Regions from separate parts of the Homo sapiens genome. Here region 2 is linked to region 1. Evidence: promoter capture Hi-C in 16 types of primary human blood cells and fetal thymus (Javierre and others, 2016). All regions are on one chromosome and are shown on one strand. The core of a region is centred on a gene start or on the middle of the fragment in contact, and the rest is flanking DNA. Distances in the headings are between cores, read along the strand shown.

What was found. The method cuts DNA at HindIII sites, captures the fragments that hold promoters and counts their contacts. A CHiCAGO score of 5 or more calls a contact.
Region 2: a contact is called between a fragment that was not itself captured here and the fragment with the promoter of HS3ST3A1 in region 1, in 3 of 17 cell types (M2 macrophages, M1 macrophages and M0 macrophages). The highest score is 16.7, in M2 macrophages.

What each region holds. Positions count from the first base shown.
Region 1 is chr17:13,599,855-13,605,107 of GRCh38, forward strand. It overlaps HS3ST3A1 (heparan sulfate-glucosamine 3-sulfotransferase 3A1), which reads right to left and starts at 2,075. Exons shown (of 2, transcript NM_006042.3): 1 at 677-2,075. The coding sequence starts at 1,275. RefSeq lists an enhancer at 1,029-1,649 and a silencer at 2,498-2,792. The HindIII fragment of the contact is 9,085 bases long and covers 1-4,870 here.
Region 2 is chr17:15,209,775-15,215,197 of GRCh38, forward strand. No RefSeq gene overlaps it. Among named protein-coding and RNA genes, the nearest start is that of MIR4731, 39 kb to the right of the region's middle. The HindIII fragment of the contact is 2,523 bases long and covers 1,229-3,751 here.

The DNA of each region.
Region 1 (5,253 bases), core at 825-3,324:
CAAAAGTTACTTTTCCCTGCAAATATCAAAAGCACTTTACAAAACTCATTCCTTGCCCTCAAACAAAAGTTATTGCCAAGCGTCCTTTAAAATACAGTGCCTGGTTGCTTTCCCTTGCTCAGACAGACATATATTTTCCAAACTACCCAGATTCTCTGGTTCTTGACACTTTTACTAAGTCTCTATATTACTTCCCACCTAGGACAACTATCTGGCAAAAGGTCAAGGTAAATAAATACCTGATGGTAAAGACTGTGTTAACCACAAAGAACTTTCCAAAAGATAAAGAATGAAAACGGGCTTCCTTGGGAAGGAGAAGGCAATCTATTAATTGTTGAACAGGTTTCTAATTTAGAAGAGACTTTTTTTTTTTCCTTTAGTTAAATACATGAATACTTTCGCAGAGCAGGAGAAAGAGACCAGACTGGCTATTTGCTGGCAAGGGATTCCCAAGGATGAAAATTATGAAGGCCAGAATTTCCCTCCCACTCTCTCCTTCAACATCCACTTCCCAGGAAGGAGAAGGCGGAGAGGGAAGAAAGACCCTTGACGACCCTTCGCCTTCTGCATGAAGTGGGGAGGAGGGCGAACTGGGGGTCACCGAGGGCTCCTCCACGTCTTTCCCAGCCCAGGACCCCCGGATCCTTCAGCCCCAGCCCGGGCCCGCCCCGCTCACCGGTACCAGGCGAGGCCCTTGTCGTAGCTGCGGTCGAAGAAGTGGGGCTCGGCGCCCACGGCGCGCACGTCGGGGTGCACGCGCAGGAACTCCAGCAGCGCCCGCGTGCCGCCCTTCTTCACTCCGATGATGATGGCCTGCGGCAGCTGCTTGCTGCCTTCGTCCAGGAGCAGCGCCAGGGTCCCCGGCGGGGCCTCGGCCACGGTGCTTCCGGCCCCGGAGCCGCCCGGACCCCCTGACAGGCCAGGGGACTCTTCTTCCCAGGCCGCCTCCTCGCCGTCGTCGCGGGGCGCGGGCGGCCGGCGCCTCCGCCACTGCGGCAGTTGCAGGAGGCGCTTTCTCTGTGCCGCCGCCGGCCACACCGCCAGCTCCCTCGGGCCTCCGGCCAGGACGCCGCCACCAGGGGCCCCCGCCTCCTCGCCGCCGCCGGACAGCCCCACGACGGGGCCGGACAGGGTCTGGCAGCGCTCGGCCAGGCAGTAGAAGACGTAAAGGGACGTGAGCAGGGAGCAGAGCATCAGCAAGAACTTCCGGAAGATGCTGCGGGACAGCGGCTCGGCCGAGGTGGAGAGGGCACTGGCCGGGCCCGGAGGGGCCATCCTAGCCGGAGGCGACGTCGGGCAACGCGCCGGCCATGCTAGGCCTGGACCCCGACAGGTGCCAGAGCATCCCCCCGGCGGGCCAGCGCGCTGGACGGAGGCCACATCGCCGTGCGCCCCTGTGGCCGTGCGAACTGTCCCGGGAGGCAGCGGCCGGGGCTCCGCGGGGAAACGGAATCCCGGGGGCCCCGCGCAGGATCCCTGCCTCCAGTCGAGGGAGCGGGAAGGGGAACGCGGGTCCGTGCTTAAGAAACCATCGTCTTAGACTCGCCCAAGTCCTGAGCTTGGGGCAGCCTTGGCCCCTCGGTTCCCCGCAAGAGTCGCCGGAATCGGGGTCTTGGCAGCGGTGTCGAAGGCGTGCGTCTCAGCCCCGGCCCCGAGAGACTTCTCGGCGCGGATCTCCGCTCAGCGATCCTGCATCACTGGCTCGGTCCCCGTGAGGGCACGCGCGGCTGCCGGGCCTCTGCGCTCCGTGCGCTCCAGACAGTGGCGAGCGACAGTGACTTCCAGCCCCGGCTTTCTCTGGTCCCCTTGCCCGCCTGGGCGCGTTCTCTCCGCCCGAGTTCAGGTTCTCTCAGCCAAGGAGCGAGGTCCCCCCGAGTCCCTCTGCCCGAGCGGGAGACAGGAGGCCCGTGCAGAGCCGTCCACCCCTCTCCGTAGCGCCGGGTTGCTCCAAACTGCTCTTGGACCCCACCTGTGAGCCGCGTGGCTGGGCTGGGCTGGGCTGCGCGGGACCTGTCAGCGGCCCCCGCCACTCTGCTCGCAGGCGCTCACCGGCTGCCTCCTGGGCCGCCGCTGGCCGCCGCCACACGTGGGACGCCGAGGGCAGCAAACTTGCTGGTGACGTCAAAGGCCCGGGCCGGACCAGCCCCCGGACGAGCGCAGCGGGGCGCGGACCAGCGGCCAGGCGGGGCCAGACGGGCGGGGTGGGATGGAGAAAAGGTGGCGCGGGCTCCGCAGCAGCCGCCCAATGGCACTGGAGAGGGCGGGGGCGGCAGGGGCGACGCCCCTTCCCCAGTGTCCCCCATTCCTCCCCGCGGCTTCGCCCCCTTCCAGTGGATCCGGTGTCTGCGGCGGCTCCGGGGTTGCCTGAGTGACAGCTAAGGCCGGCCGGATCTCTGGGGGCCTGACTTCCACCCAAGACGCCACTAGCTTGGTGAGGGGCCCCAGAGCTCTCCACCGCAGCTCAGCCCTCCGCAGCCCTGACCCTCCCTCTCCAGGTTCCCCGCGCTCTGCTCCCCTCTTGGCACTGTTGCCCTATCCTTCCCCATCCCACTGCTTTCCATCGCCTGGAACCTACTCCTCGTCCCCTTGGAAGTTTTGTTTGCAGCAGTTCCCAGTACTGCGCTGCACGCCACGCCCCCGTTTGTCTGGAGCAAACCGAATTCCTCTGCAGCAGCTTGGACTTCTACCTACTCAACTGTCTGCTGCGGGTCTTGGAGCAAAGCTCTTTCTCGTATCAGTCTGTTTTTTGTTTGTTTGTTTTCTTTTCTTTTCTTATTTTGATTGTTTTCCCTTGGATTTGTATAAGATGATACAGTCCTCCAGGGCCTAGAAAGGAACAACCTCTTACGAAAAAAAAAAAAACCAATGCATAAATCAAAGGCAAAATTAAAATTTAAAAAAAATTCAACTCCGATTCCAAGTCCCTATGCCCAATTTTTAATGTAGTGTGTATTTCCTTAATGTTGTTTGTACTTTTGTGTGTGTGTGTGTGTGTGTGTGTGTGTGCGCGCGCGCGCATGCACGCTCGCAAAGAGGTTAAATGTCCTTTCATAAACTGCGGTTTCCTCTTTCCCTTGCCTCCCCTGACCCTATATCCTCTTCGTGCGCTCCCCGGAGAGCAGGTCAGGAAGGGATACAAACCGCCTTGCTGTCTAATGGAGGGAGGTGGCCCGTGGAAGCTGCATGAGGTGGTTTTTTGTTCTAATCCTATTTGTTCCTTATTTTTTGGCTTCCTTGCCTCCACAGGTTGCCTCACCATGTGGGCGGTAGCTTGGGAGCTTCTTACCAGCCCCTGCAAGCTGTGGAGGCAGCTTTCTGGGACCTCTGCGGGTGCTAACAAGGGCCCACCGCAGGCTCAAGGTCCACGGTGCAGGAAACTTACCAGGCATTTCTGCGTCCCCATGCAGGAACTTCGCAGCCTTTCTGTGCTCTATTTGACCACGGAAGTGGAAGTCAGCTTCCACTTTTTCAGCTTCCAAGGGGCACCTAGTGGTTCTAACTCTGGGCTTGCATGGATCCATGAATTTGTGCCCTGCTAGATAAATACTCACTGCTGGATATGGTTTATGGTTTTATGTTTATGAACTACCAATCCCAACTGATTCGACAACCAGTGAAGAGCTTTTTAGATTCTGATGCCGTAAAGCGCTGGGCGTTTACGAGGATGGACAAGCCCTGCCAAGCTGTAATGTCCTTTTGTGTTCTAAAATTGGATATTGACAAACCAGTTGAGATCTAATGCTAACTTAAACTTTCCTGTGTTTTCACATTTTTTCCCTAAGTACTTCAGTCAGATTTGCAGAAGGAAGACAACAAAACAAAGACCATTTTTAAGTTGTTTTGAAGGCATGCAGTCCCGTGAATGCTTATAAACATGCCCCAGTTTCCTGGACTGGAAAATGATGGACTCGAAGTTCCCTTCTAGCTCCAACATGACATCATAGCATGTGTTTAGTCTTTCACTTTCTGAGCACAGGTCTTTCCTTTACGTGGGTATTAAAGATGCTCGATGTAGGAAACATGGTTCTCACCATCACTTGCATGACATGTAGGGCAGCTCTGCACTTTAGAAGCAAAATGTGAGCCACAAATAAAAGCTGCATGGATAATTTTCAATTTCTAGTAATTTTTTTCTGTGTTTTTTGAAATGGGGTCTACTGTCACCCAGGCTGGAGTGCAATGGCACAATCTTGGCTCACTGCAACCTCTGCCTCCCGGGCTCAAGTGATCTTCCCACCTTAGCCTCCTGAGTAGCTGGGACTACAGGCATGTGCCACTACACCTAGCTAATTTTTTGTTGTTGTTTTTTGTAGAGATGGGGTTTTGCCATGTTGCCCAGGCTAATTTCTAGTAAATATTAGCACCTTACAAAAGGTTAAAAAAGAAGCAGAGAAAGTTATCTTTTCATAATATGTCCCATACATCCAAAAATGTGACTGTAACATGTAGTCAATATAAAAATGATTGAAGTCATGTATGTTCTTTCTTTTCATACTAAGTCTTTGGAATCCAGTGTGAATGTTACACTTCTGCACATCTCAGTTGGGACTAGCCGCATTTCAAATGCTCAATACCCCTAGGTGGCTGGTGGTTACCCTAGTAAGACAGCACAAATGGGGATGTTGTTTTGGTGGGAGGGGTGAATCTGTCAGGGTCTTAACAGGAATCAGACAGCACATTCAAATTAGGATAATGCACGGAGGGTTTATTTACAAAAGATCTGTTTATAAAGGACTAGAAAAGACAACAACCCTAGGGTAGTAGCACTGGCGCTGTCACTACCCTTATGTCTGAAAGAATGAGGGAAAGGAAGGGCTACCAAAACCAGGAGGGAAAAAGTCCATAGAAGAGGCCCTTGAGAGTGGCAGCAAGCTTTCGTGGTGACACACAGCCTGTCCAAGGCACCTCTTAGGAAAGGAATCAGGGAAAGAAATGTTCTTGATAAGACAATAGGGGATAGGTATGTGGCATTATGTTTAATCGTGACGAAAATCAAGAAGGGTGATTAAAGTCTCATCATAAAATTAGGTACAGTCACGCTACATAGCCTTTTAGAACATGTCTTCTTTCATCCACTTAGATGCTTACACTAGAATAGAAACAAGTTGGAGCTGTTGATTACTATGGTTCTTTAATGGGGAAATAAATGCCTACCAAAATACCAAAGAGCGCAATAGACTTTGTTGCACAGCTTCTTCTTGTTGTTCCCTTTCTCTTTGTTATTCCATGTTTATTAGTCAAGGTTCTCCAGAG
Region 2 (5,423 bases), core at 1,240-3,739, 1.6 Mb after region 1:
TAGTAAGCATTTGACAAGTAGTTATAGCATTATTATTGTTGTACACACACTTCTAGAAGATCTTTCCCTCTCCCTTTTCTCAAATTAAAGAAAAAAAAATTTCTGGTGCCTTGAAATGGAGAAAAATCAGTGCCATTGGAGCCTTTGTCATGGGGGCCATCTCTGTAGACTCTGTTTTCTAGGACTTTTTTTCGACAACTAAAATGAGATTTTGTGTCCACCCTGTCATCCTTCTCCATACCTTGTCGCTTCCCACTCCACCCACGAGGGTTTTGGGAAGAGGGGAACAGTATGGGCACTCCTCAGTTCCAACTGATCCTGGATGATAGAAATATGTTGCATGACATAAAATGGGCAAAAGAAAAAGGGAGGGATGAGGGAATAATTGAAAACTAGGACCTGTATTACCTATTTAACTCAAGCAAATTTCCAAACAACCAAACCCACACGCTCCTCTGGGGCTCCCTATTCCTTTCCAGTCACAATTCCAGGATTACATTTATAGGATCCGGATGACTACCATGTTCTGGGCAGAGTCAATGCTTACTCTCTTGTCAATTGAAAGTTTTGAACACTGCCCTTTCCTGCAGGAGTCTCTGATTCTTACTGCAGGGGATTGGAGTCAACATAATTAACCTTCTGCTTCCTAACAACCACTGAGATAATTTGATATGTGTCCCCTGTAATTTGAGGGACAAAAAAAAGCAGGCTTCTAATTCACATCTGGACAAGCAAAATGCAGGATGCTGTGGCTGGCTGGTTGCTCTGATCACAGAGAGGTGACTGTATGTGGAATGTCACATGGGCTTTCCATGAGCCAGACCTGTAGCTTTGGAAAGGAGCTTTGCCCAGTCCAATGTAGATGAGCAATTATTAGCTTGTGTGCTAGTAGAAATTTTGTTCAGAAATCATATGAAATTGCTGGTATGCAAAATGTAAATGAGCTAGTTACATACATACAGCACATATGCGGAGCACTCTTCTGGGCTCTAGAGTACATATATGAATCTGTTCCAATGTGGGGCATGGGGTGAAATCTAGCTGGTGATGTGGTGATGAGCCATTCTACATGGTGATGTGGGCTGTGTAGGAAGATGATGGGAATGCCACAGTGGCCTCAGTGATAACACAAAATTCTCAGTCCTTTATATATTTAGGTGGGTAATGTTGTAAAGCACTGAGTTATAATTATTCAAATATATATTTTATATTGCAGTGGTGAAGGGAAAGCTTCCCCTTTGCTCTTGGAAGGTTCACTGAAAAATGAACTAATAAAAAAGCAGATTAAGAAGAGAAAAAGCATACAAATGTATTACTACCATGCACAGGGGAAGAATCACAGTGGTTGCCCAGTATCCCAGTGGGATATGGATGGTGATATACCCTACTTCTTAGGGGAAAGGGAGATGGGAAGTGTGGATGATTTTTGGGAGATTGTAAATGATTTATTTTTAGGGGAACTCAATGGGTTTGAAGAACATACAACGGTCTTAGACAAAGTCTGTTAGGCCCACAGGGAAGAAAGTGGTTTGTGAAAAAAGTCTCTAGGTTTGTTAACAGACTTTAGTCTTCTTTCTTATGATATGGGTTCAGTTCACGAAAACTCAGGAAAGACAAGTGGTAATTGTTTTGTACTCTGGTAGGTCTGGACTTTAGGCAGATACTTCAGAGAACAGCTTCATCCTGTGCTTCAGGAGAGGTTAAGGACTGACAGCAAGGGAGGGAGGAAAAACAATGTTCTCCTTGGTGGATCTGCCCAGTCTTTATGCAGATAGGGGAAAAGTCTCTTCCAGCATCTACTGATCTCTAAAGGCCTGTAATTCAAAATACGCATTATACCTTGCTCCTTTGATATCCTAGCTCCTGATCCATTAATGGATCAGAAAACAAAGAAAATACATCCAGAAGATGTTGGCACTTCATCAAAGGGCAACAAAAGAAAATGCGTTTTTGGAAATAATATAGTTAAACTCCAGGAGCATTATGAAATCTGTATAGGTCTTGTCCAAGACATTCTGTACAGATGATCTTTTACTATAACAATAAATATTTATTGGAAACCTTATTTTGTTGGATAAATAGACTGTGGGCAAAATTCAAACATTGCTCATTACTTAATCAAAGCCTATATTCATATGACCCCTTAATTACCCTGATACATTCCCAAGAGTCTAAATTACCTTCTCCAACAAGGTTGTAAACTTCCTAAAGGAAGATCTGTCCCTGTCATTTTTGTTGTCTTTCTTTTTTTTTTTTGAGATGGAGTTTTGGTCTTGTTGCCCAGGCTAGAGTGCAACGACGCGATCTCGGCTCACAGCAAACTCCGCCTCCCGGGTTCAAACCATTCTCCTGCCTCAGCCTCCGGAGTAGCTGGGATTACAGGCATGCGCCACCACGCCCGGCTAATTTTGTATTTTTAGTAGAGACAGGGTTTCTCCATGTTGGTCAGGCTGGTCTCGAACTCTGGACCTCAGGTGATCCACCCACCTCGGCCTCCCAAAGTGCTGAGATTACAGGCGTGAGCCACCGCGCCCGGCCTGTTGTCTTTCTTAGGGTCTTTATTTGCACAGTGAATATAAACATTAGTTTATAATTAATTTCACTGTTCCCTCTGCTCAACCCTAGCCAATTATGTTTTAATGATGCCACATTGTATAGCCCGTATGAAACGATATTATGATATTTCTATAGTGTCTGAAGTATTAACAGTTGCCTGTGTGTCCTACAGTTTTCAGCAAGCTGCAGGGGTGAAGGGGAGATGGTAGGAATGAGGAAGAGAATTGAAGGACTTCAAATGAAAAACTCTAAGTCCCCAAAGACAAACAGGGCCTAATAAACACAACAGTAACAATAATACCTAACACATATTAGGTGCTTACTATTTGCCAGCATTATGTCACTTAGCACTCACCTCTGTGATATAGATACTATTATTATCTTGGAAAGTTCAAATAACATCCCACAGTCAGTGAAAAAGCTGGATTTGAATGCAAGATGCCTGAACCCCATGCTCTTAACTTCCACCTCACACAGGGCTGGCCGCCTCTTGAGGCTTATACGGCCTTTTTTTTTTTTTTTTTTTTTTTGACAGAGTCTTGCTCTGTCACCCAGGCTGGAGTCCAGTGGCGTGATCTTGGCTCACTGCAACCTCTGCCTCCCGGGTTCAAGTGATTCTTCTGCCTCAGCCTCCTGAGTAGCTGGGACTACAGGTTCATGCCACCACGCCTGGCTAATTTTTGTATTTTTAGTAGAGACGAGGTTTCACCATATTGGCCAGGCTGATCTCGAACTCCTGACCTCGTGATCCACCCTCCTTGGCCTCCTGAAGTGCTGGGATTACAGGTGTGAGCCACCATGCCTGGGCTACATGGCTTTTTTAATGACAAGTTAGAGCAAGCTAACTTCCTAGTCAATTCAAGAATGAAAAAACAACAACAAATAAACACCATTGTTTGGCATTGTGGAGACAATGATGGGATTGAATTTATGAACTCTAGGCGTTCTTCTTCCCCTAATCCAGAGAAATCACTACAAGGCCACTTTCATTTCTTTCCCTAAAGAGGGACCACCTAAAACGCTCTGCCCCTGAGGGCACGAGATAAAGTCCATGGTGGGACTTTAGTGCTGAGCCTTGCAAAGGATCGATCTCACGCTTCACTTTTCTCATCAGTGGCTTCATCTGAAGCAGCATGATGGTTAAGAAGGCTTCGGGTGAAAATGACTCAAAGTAACAAACCAGACACCCATTTAAAGCTTCCCAGTGTGTTAAAAGCATGTCTCTTCACTGCAAGACAAATACTGTGGGATCAACAAGCCCTGGAGACAGATGGAAGAAATTCCAAACAGCCTCAGGTGGTTCGTAGTCAGCTAGCCAGCCACCAAAGCCAGTGGCTCACCCCTGGGAGCCTCCTGCCCTGGGGTCTACACATAGAAATAGTCATTTGGTTCATTTCATTGACCATTTAAAAAGTATATTTTGCTTAGTGCACAAGTACAGCTAGGAGTGAAAAAAATTATGAAAATGAATTCTATTCAAAATTTTTAGTTTGTGGGTTTGAAGTTAGGTAAGAGGAACAAGAGAGCCAATAGTTCTATTACCCAAGCAGGGGCTCCCCCTGCTGGAAATCTATTTTGAAACCCATAAATTGTTAATGATGCCTTCTTGAATTACCTATATGGCAGTGGAACAAGAAAAGCGCCAGTAATTTAAATATTTAAGGCTGATATCATCTATCTACATAGGTAATGAAAGTGTTTCCTATACTTCTAGAGTTCAAATAAATAAAACAAGATTCACCTGCTTTAGGATGAATAGAATGAATACAGAATGGTGTTATAAATTTTAGGAAAATGCACCAGAAAATGATTTTTGTGTTGTTGCTGTTGTTATTCTTAATTTGGCAGAGCAATAGAATTATCCTGGAAAATATCTAATGGAACCCAAAAGAGTAAGAGGGTAAAAGGGATGATTTTGTACTCAACATCCTGATAGACAATTAGGAAAAGTTTTTCAGCTGCAGTCTATCTGAGATATAGACTCACCTTGTATTTCTCAGAGACTTAGGTCCTAACCATGTAAGCATCTCAAGATGATCGTCGTAACTCCCCAACTCTTAAACCTACTGGCCCAAACAAGAGGAATCAACATGTTGAAGATTGTATATCCTATATCTGTGATGCAGTAATACAGCTTAGGCATTTAAAAATCTTATGTTACCTTGGCTCCATCTGAAATTTTTTTAAAGAGAGAAGGAGAGAGAGAGAGAGAGAGAGAGAGAGAGAGAGAGAGAGAGAGAGAGAGAGAACCAGTATAAATTCCAAACAGTATCATTTGAAATTCTAAACATGTAGATTTAAATTTTGGAATGCGCAGACTAGACTGTGAGTGATACGGTCTAAAAGGCATTATCAACTATGTCAAATCAATAAATCAATCATGAATTCTCTTGCAATTCACAACAGCCCCTCGCAAAAGAGTGCAACAATGTGAACACTGCCAAATGTATAGAAATGACTCTTCCTATAGAGTGGCCAACAAGACAAACTGACATTTTCTCTGTACTAATAGAGATTGAGTTCATAGCACATTTCCTCTCTCTTCAACACACACACACACACACACACACACACACACACACACACACACACCCTGACAACACTCATGCTGTCTAACCAGCTGAGACTGCATTTCTCACTTTGAACATCAAAGTGATAAATCAAGATTCAATTCAACATCATTTGCTGAGTGCCTTCTGTGGACTCCGTGGGAGATTTGTAACAATCTAAAAGATTATAAGAGAGAAGAGCATATGATATGTCTACAAATAAACTTTTGAGTGTGAGTTAAGAAGAGTATTCATTTTTACACTGAACTGGAGATCCATGACTCTATTAACACCTTGATTCTGATATAATTCAATTTA